Linked DNA regions of Homo sapiens: region 2 is linked to region 1. The links are contacts of gene promoters, found by promoter capture Hi-C in human tissues and cell types (Jung and others, 2019). All regions are on one chromosome and are shown on one strand. The core of a region is centred on a gene start or on the middle of the fragment in contact, and the rest is flanking DNA. Distances in the headings are between cores, read along the strand shown.

Region 1 (4,401 bases), core at 1,837-4,336:
ACGGTGTTTTACCATGTTGGCCAGGCTGGTCTCAAACTCCTAATTTCGTGATCTGCCCACCTCGGCCTCCCAAAGTGCTGGGATTATAGGCGTGAGCCACCACGCCCGGCCACAGCTTTTATTTTTTTAGACTCTCTAAAGGTCTCTCTGTCACCCAGGCTGGAGTACAGTGATGTGATCATCGTTCACTGTAACCTTGACCTCCCGGGCTCAAGTGACCTCCCGGGCTCCCACCTCAGCTTTCCCAGTAATTGGGACTACAGGTGTCATACACCAGGCTACATTTTATAGCTTTCTTTTATTTATTTATTTTTTGAGACAGAGTCTCACTCTGTCGCCCAGGCTGGAGTGCAGTGGCCTGATCTCGGCTCACTGCCAACCTCCACCTCTGGGGTTCAAGCGATTCTCGTGCCTCAGTCTCCTGAGTAGCTGGGATTACAGGCGCCAGCCACCACACCTGGCTAATTTTTGTGTTTTAGTACAGACGGGGTTTCACCAGGTAGGCCAGGTTGGTCTCGAACCCCTCACCTCAAGTGATCCGCCGAACTCGGTCTCCTAAAGTGCTGGGATTACAGGCGTGAGCCACCGCGCCCAGCCTTATATTTTACAGCTTTCAAATCTACAAATGGGGTTTTCTTTTTTCTTTCTTTTTTTTTTTTTTTTTTTTTTGAGACGGAGTCCTCGCTCTGTCTCCCAGGCTGGAGTGCAGTGGCGCGATGTTGGCTCACTGCAAGCTCCGCCTCCCGGGTTCACACCATTATCCTGCCTCAGCCTCCTGAGCAGCTGGGACTACAGGCACCCGCCACCACGCCCGTCTAATTTTTTTATTTTTAGTAGAGACGGGGTTTCATCGTGCTAGCCAGGATGGTTTCCATCTCCTGACCTCGTGATCCGCCTGCCTCAGCCTCCCAAAGTGCTGTGATTACAGGCATGAGCCACCGCACCCGGCCACGAATGGGATTTTCATATGATTCAACTTAATGCATCTAAAGACTAAGATTACACATACAAAATCCAGATTTCTGATTTCTCTTTACAACTAGTAAGATATATCAACAATAAGTCCAGATGTCTACATGGCAGCTGTCAGCTGGAGCCTAGAGGCAGATGCTGCACCTTTTAGATGGCATATTTCCTTTTCTATTTGCTATTCTATTTCTATTTGATAGTCCACACCATCCTACTGTGCCTTATAGGCTGGCAGCTTCACTCGTTTATATTACCCCGGCTGGCCCCTGTGAACCATTAGAATTGGAAACCTCTGATTTTTCTACAGACACCCTGAAGAGGCTTGATGCTTATTCCATTTTCAAGTTGTCTGTTCAACTGCAAGGTTTTTTAATTCTGCCCAAATCATAAATTATGTTCGTGTTTTCTATGTAATATATTGATAAAAAGGCTGACAGAAGAAATGTAAACAAGGCACCTTTTAGATGTTAACTAAGATATATTAACCACAACATATAGTTGTGATACATGTACTTGCGGTGATCAAATAAAAAATACTTGGCCGGGCACGGTGGCTCATGCCTGTAATCTCAGCGCTTTGGGAGGCCGAGCTGGGCGGATCACTTGAGGTCAGGAGTTGGAGATCAGCCTGGCCAACATAATGAAACCTCATCTCTACTAAAAATATAAAAATTAGCCGGGTGTGGTGGCACACGCCTGTAATCCCATCTACTTTGGATGCTGAGGCAGGAGAATCGCTTGAACCCGGGAGGCAGAGGTTGCAGCCAACCAAGATCGGGCCATTGTACTCCAGCCTGGGGGACAAGAGCGAGACTTTGTCTAAAAAAAAAAAAAAAACTAAAAAATAAAAAATACTTAACGTTTATTTACTCCTCAAAGGTAAATTATAATACTCATCTCAGATGACTATGGAGTCAAGAGCTCCATGTATCTATACCTCTCTGGCCCCAGGTAAATCATTAAAACTCTTAGTTTCCGCTCTCCCTTATGTACAATAAAACAGTACTGCATAGGTAGAAAGGCTGGGGGGAAGTAAATGAAGCCCAGTGAAATGAGAATGTCTATTAACACCGTTCCCTCTCCCCCCGCCCCCAATTTCTTCAGCTCCATTAAGGAAGGAAGTGCTATATGAAAAAGTCATTCCTTAGTATCTGTGTTCAGACACTCTGTAGACAAAATTCTCAACGGAGGGGTGGGGCATCAGAATCAACCAGGTGAGCCTATACTCACGCCCTTAAAAAGGGTGTTAATACTGGACTCAGAACTTTAAAGAAAAACGCACTGATCTCATTCATTGAAGTTATTTTTTGTATGCAGAATAAAATTGTGTGAATAAAATGCAAGCAGCACCGTCTGTAAGTAGACCAGAACTGGGGGAAAGAAACTGTAAGGCCCGAGTACGCATTATGGTACAAAACGTTCTCACCAGCCCCAATTCCTCTCCATCTAGGAGGGTTGGATGCGCGCGATTTTATCGGGGCACGGCGACAAAGGAGCTGAAACGCGGGCACTCGCTGGAGCGCAAACCCTCCCGACTCCCGGCGGGGAGCGACCTGAGCTCGGGAGAGGGGCGCCCCGTGTCCCACGGCCCGCCGGCTGCGGTGCTGAACCGCGGAAAGCGACGCGGGCCCGGGACACGATGTGCGCGGCGCCGGGGCTGAAAGCTGGCCGGGAGGGCGGAGGCGCGAGTTCCGCCCTGGGCCGCGGAGTAGTCCGAGGGCTCACACCTCCCCAAGTGGCGCAGCCTGGGCCCGCGGGGAGGCTCCGCGCAGCTCCCCCGAGCCTCCGCCGGGCCTCGGCCGTGCTCCGCGGCGCGGCTGTTACCCCGCCCCTCCTCCGCGCCCCCAACCTGCAGCCGCGGCCGTTCACCTGGTGGCGTCCGCGACGTTCCTGATGAACAGGGAGGTGTTGGGGGGCCTCGTGTAGCGAGACATGACCGCTTCCTCCGTTCCCTCCGGGTCTGCCCGCGGCCGCTGGACTCGCTCCGTCTCCCGCTACCGCTGCTACCACCACAGGAGCTCCGCCGGCCCCCGGCGCGACCCCCACCCCTCGGCCTCAGCCCCGCCAGCGCGCAGCCGCAGAGGCCGGCGCAGAGGGGGCGCAGCGCGGCGCCAGCCTGGACGCACGGGCCGGGGGCGGGGGCGGCGCCGGCGCGGCCCAGGGGCCGCGGGAATTCCGAAGACAGGAGCGCGGCCGTTCCCAGGCCCTATGGGATCCGGGTATGGGGGGTCCTGGAGTGCGACGGGATTTGGGGAGGGGGCGGCGAGGGCCAGTGTATGTCAGGAGGGCGGAGGCCAAGAGGGGGCTTGAGGCCGCGGCGGGGACGCCGGGGGTTAGAGGACCCAGAGGTGGTGGCGGGGCTGCGGCTGGGCGGAGGTGGGGTCAGTGAGAGCCGCTTTCAACCGCGCCCCCGCTCAGCCTCCGCGGCCCTCAGCGCATCGTCCTGAGCGCAGGACCTTGGCAGTTGGTAGGCCTCCTGCCCCTCTGGTCTTGAGCCTTCGGCTTTCCAACTGTGAGGTCTCGGTTTTGTTCGGATTTGTTTTTTTAATAGAGACGGGGTCTCGCTGTGTTGCCCAGGTGGTCTCAAACTCCTGGGCTCAAGCCTCTCCCGCCTCGGCCTTCCAAAGTGCTGGGATTACAGGTGTGAGCCACCGCGCCTGGCCTGTTGGATTTTTAAGTATTATATGATTCTTCATCCTTTATTCACTTGGGGCATAACACTCAGCTGTGAGTACATTCATTCAGATGTTTATTGAGCGTCTACTATGCGCCAGGCACTTAGCGTGGGATATAGCAATGAACAAACAGGCCAAGCCCCGCCCTCTGAGCTTACATTCTAGAGGGGGGACAAACGAATGTACAAATGAATACATGATGTAGAAGACAACAGTTTAAATGCAGGGACAGTTAAGCAAAATTTAAATTACCCTCTCCCTATTCCCCCAAAATGTTGTAGCCCATCCCCTTCTAGTTAGACTCGTCTTCGCCTTGCTCCTGTGGCCGGCAGGCACAGCCTGTTATTCAGGGCTGGGAGTGTAACCAGGCAACTCCTAAGTGTGAAGAGTGCCCCTTTTCGCTCGCAGAAGTGGTAGGCTTTGAAGAATACATGTCGTGGTCACCCTTCTAGCTCACAGCCCTCCCAGAGGCTGTGGAGGTTCCTGGGTCTGCAGCTGTACTGGAACGGTGGCTATTCTTTCATTCAGAAGGGATTGCTCTGGCACTGCAGGCACAGGGCTAGACTGGCACCGTGCCTATTCCCCTAGAGCTTAGAATTTGGTAGGGAGGCAGAATCTAACAATCACACTGGTAAAGATACAAACTATAATACAGGGCTATGAAAAGAACTATATGCTGCTGAGAGCAGGCATTGTGGGATGGTGAGCAAGGCTAGAGGGTCACTTATGTTCCCTGAACAAGTCTTGAAGAGATGGG
Region 2 (4,096 bases), core at 374-2,873, 200 kb after region 1:
GGAGGCCAAGGTGGGTGGATCACTTGAGGTCAGAAGTTTGAGACCAGCCTGGCCAACATGGTGAAACCCTGTCTCTACTAAAAATACAAAAATTAGCCAGGCATGCTGGTGCACGCCTGTAATCCCAGCTACTCGGGAGGCTGAGGCAGGAGAATCGCTTGAACCCGGGAGGTGGAGGTTGCAGTGAGCCAAGATTGCGCCACTGCACTCCAGCCTGGGTGACAGAGAGTCCATCTCAAAAAACAAACAAACAAATAAACAAAAGAGAGTAATAACCTCTCCCAGAGCAGCAGTTGCCACTGGGATACTGGAAGTAGAGGCTGTAACTCTTATTTATATTCAGGGTTTTTTTTTTTTTTTTCTAAAAATAAGAAATCAATTAAACTTTAACATACATATTTATAACAGCACATGTATGTGATTTGTAAGTAAATATGCATGTATTAGAGGTACAGTTTCAAAAACTTGTCATTGACAGCAGCGCATGTTCAAAAATGTTTGGGGACTGACCTAGAAAATGTGCCTCAAGATATTAATTTATATTCAAAACCACTAGTTTATCTGATGCTTAGTAGAATGGAAAATAAATGTGTAACATGCCACACATGGTGTTTATATCTTAGCTGCTTGTTCTTTTCTTATCTCCATGTCTAACAGTCCTTATGTCTACTTCAGGCCTGGAGTATGATGCTTCGTATGTCAATTCAAAATAAACTTCCTAAGGAACTTAGATTTGTAATGTAATGATTTTGAATGCAGATCCTGGGCTATTATTTCTTGGGAATGTCTCCATTACATCATGAAATTGCATTCACTGTTGTTCACACATATATTTCTGATAATTAAGCAAATTTCTGAACACCTCTTCTAAGATTCAAAACAGTAAAATGAAACCCAATATCATTATAAAGTTATTCTCTGGCAAATAATTTAAGGAAGACAACTCCCGTATGCATTTTTTTCTTAATAGTTCAGGCTAGGTTCCTATATACAGTTCTCCCCAAAATACTTGAGTGTAATTATTTAGCAGGTCATCGGTTGTAACCCTGAGAAACAAAGCAGCACAATGTGATTTGTACAGAGAATGATTTTACCCACTACGTCTCCAACTATTTATATCTGCCTCAAATCAAAATGCTTTGGCTGAACGCAGGCATCCGAAGGAAGGCTCATCCCAGTCTAGTTCTGCTCTCAATGCTTGTGACACATAGAGTATGTGTGCCCAGGGAGAGGCTGCGTTCAGTGAAGTAGCTGGGTTCTCATTCTCATAGGGCGATATCTCAATAGGACCTTAGCCCCCTGGGGAGCCATCCCACTGTGCCACTGCTGCTGCTACTATGCAGGGTAACCTCCCTCCTTTCCCACCTATGACTTTACCTTGGCTTGGGCATTTCCACCTGCCCTGTCCATCGCTTCCTCTTGGGTTTTCTGCTCTCCACGAGAACCATCAAGCAAAACAAGAACAAAATGAGTCTTGTAAAATAAGGCATTTTGTGGACATCTGTGAGGCAAAAAGCTGCTTTCCAGTAGCCTGTGGCAGAGCAAATCCCCCCTGGCTTGACCATTGATCCATCTGCTGCCTCCTGACGGGCTGCTCTGAGGGGCTGTGAGGGCAAGGCTGGCCAGGCTAGTTGTCCCGATTTACTATTTGATACTGACGCCCCACTCACCCCCTCCACTCCGGGCCATGACACAAACACCAGGCTTTGCCCTCCCTGCTGATTAGTGATTGGCCATTAGTCGAGAAGTTTGTCCTCATGAAATTCTGCTTCCACTGAATCCTAGAATAGCTTTGGCTAAAGCTGTTATATAAAAAATTAAATCTCTTGAACATGCCAGCTTTGTGCTGAGATTATTGGTCCATCTTCTGGCTGCATAAAACCAGTCTGTCCCATCCACCAGGGGGTCAGCTCGGATTCCAAGTAGATTTGCAGAGAGGACTTGGTGGACATTTAGATGGGTACATAAATGTGTTCAGGAAATGCTGAGTAAACATGAATGACCTGTTTCCTTAGGGTTGATTTATTTATGGAGCTAAGAGAATATGCTTTGCCTATGAGCAAGGATACTTCCTTTCTCACAAATATAGATCAACTTTTTCCAGTGAAAACATCAAAGCATAAAATACATTTTTAGTTTCAAGGATGACATTAATCATAGAATTCATGATTATGTAAGCTTTTCTTCCTACCATAAGCATTAAATTAACTTTGGCCTTTAACCCTAAAATGTATAAAATCAATCATAAATTAGGCTTTATTCCTATCCTGGGATATGGAATTAAGCACATTAGAATTGTAGAGATACATGTGGTTATGTCTAACCTACTGAACAAAATAGAATATGTTTAAAAACTACTCATTGCTTGCTATGTCCTGGCAATGGAAAATTTCATGGTAGAAACATAGGGAGATGAGGACAGAGATCAGGAGGTGGGATAGCCGTAAGTGAAACAGAATTGGGATTTTACTATGTATAAATGACAGAATCAAAAGAAGCTCTTTGATTCCCTTAAGCAAAGTGAGATGGCATGATCTACTTTATTTTTGAAATAATTCCTAATTGGGATCAGTCGAATCAGGGAACTTATGATGACAAAAGAGAATAAGGTCCTGCTCTGAGGGAAGCGAAGAAGGAAGAAGAGAAAGGAAGACAGAAGAGTGAGATACTCAAGTTAGTTCTGCGGTAGCATACATTTGGTGCCTGTGCAGATAGAGTAGAAGGTGAGAGACAGAAAAGTCAACAATAATATCAAGAATTCTACGGTGGCTCACACTTGTAATCCCAGCACTTTGGCAGAGGCAGGTGGATTACCTGAGGTCAGAAGTTCAAGACCAGCCTGGCCAACGTGGTGAAACCCCATTTCTACTAAAAATACAAAAATTAGCCAGGTGTGGTGGTACGTGCCTGTTAATCCCAGCTATTCAGGAGGCTGAGGCAGGAGAATCACTTGAACCTGGGAGGCAGAGGCTGCAGTGAGCCAAGATCACACCACTGCACTCCAGCCTGGGCGACAGAGCATGACTCCGTCTCCAAAAAAAAAAAAAAAAAAAAAAAAGCTAGAGCATGAGCCTGGAGTTCAGGAGAAAGTCTAGTTCTATTTCTAGACTATAGAAATAGATCTGGAGCTGTAGAGACCAAGTGAAAGTTTTCCCTTTGCCCCATGGAGGATCACCAAAAAATCAACTGACAAAAGGAAGATTAATAGGGGAAAAGGCATACAGATTTATTAACATGCATGGAGGAAAATCACATCATGATTACCCAATTACCCAGCATGGTACAGACATTTATATACCCTTTTTCATAAGGAAGAGATGGGGGATGTAGGCAATTCTTTTGAGGGACAGTAAATCATTAGGGAGGATGAATGGACCCAGGAGGAAAGTGAGGGGTGGAACTACACAGGAACTAAAGTTGTCTTATACAGATAAAGTCCAACAGGTAATCTCTTAAAGCTGCCCTCAGAAGACTAGATGAAAAGTCTATCTGGGTGCAGTGAGAACTCCCAGTCTCTTCTCTTCTCAGATGGTTGATTTTTCCTGGTTATTTTGTGAGATCCCTAGGTAGGGGGTCTTAAGTGCATTTAAACTTTCTTAGATAGGGAAATTCCAGAGAGTCCCTCCCAGTTCTTTGTGCAAGAAGAGCAGAGAGCCTGACCAATCAGTAGGTTAACAAAGAAATTCAGACAGAAATTTAAAAACTTTTTGAAATGAAAAAAAGTACAGCATACCAAAGCCTGTGGCATATAACAAAAGCAGTGCTAAGAGAGAAATTTACAGTATTCAATGCCCATATCAAAAAAGTAGAAAGATCACAAACTAACAAACTCCTATGGCACCTCAAGGAACGAGAAAAGCAGAAGAAACCAAACCCTGAGTTAGCAGAATAAAAGGAATAACAAAGATCAGAGCAGAACTAAATGAAATAGAGACCAATAAAACGATACAAAGGATCAATAAAAAAAAAAGTTGTTTTTTTGAAAAGATAAAGAAAATTGACAAACCACTAGCTAGACTAACCAAGAAAAGAAGAGAGAAGCTCCAAATAAACACAATCAGAAATGAAAAGGGAGACATTACAAATGATACCACAG

The links. The method cuts DNA at HindIII sites, captures the fragments that hold promoters and counts their contacts. A contact is called where the count stands out against the background at its distance.
Region 2: a contact is called between the fragment with the promoter of GABRR2 here and the fragment with the promoter of SRSF12 in region 1, in 1 of the 25 tissues and cell types used here (adrenal gland).

What each region holds. Positions count from the first base shown.
Region 1 is chr6:89,114,985-89,119,385 of GRCh38, forward strand. It overlaps SRSF12 (serine and arginine rich splicing factor 12), which reads right to left and starts at 3,087. Exons shown (of 5, transcript NM_080743.5): 1 at 2,839-3,087. The coding sequence starts at 2,903. It also overlaps a transcript of PM20D2 not described here. RefSeq lists a silencer at 2,671-2,940. The HindIII fragment of the contact is 14,948 bases long and covers 1-4,401 here.
Region 2 is chr6:89,313,676-89,317,771 of GRCh38, forward strand. It overlaps GABRR2 (gamma-aminobutyric acid type A receptor subunit rho2), which reads right to left and starts at 1,624. Exons shown (of 9, transcript NM_002043.5): 1 at 1,378-1,624. The coding sequence starts at 1,490. The HindIII fragment of the contact is 18,857 bases long and covers 1-3,959 here.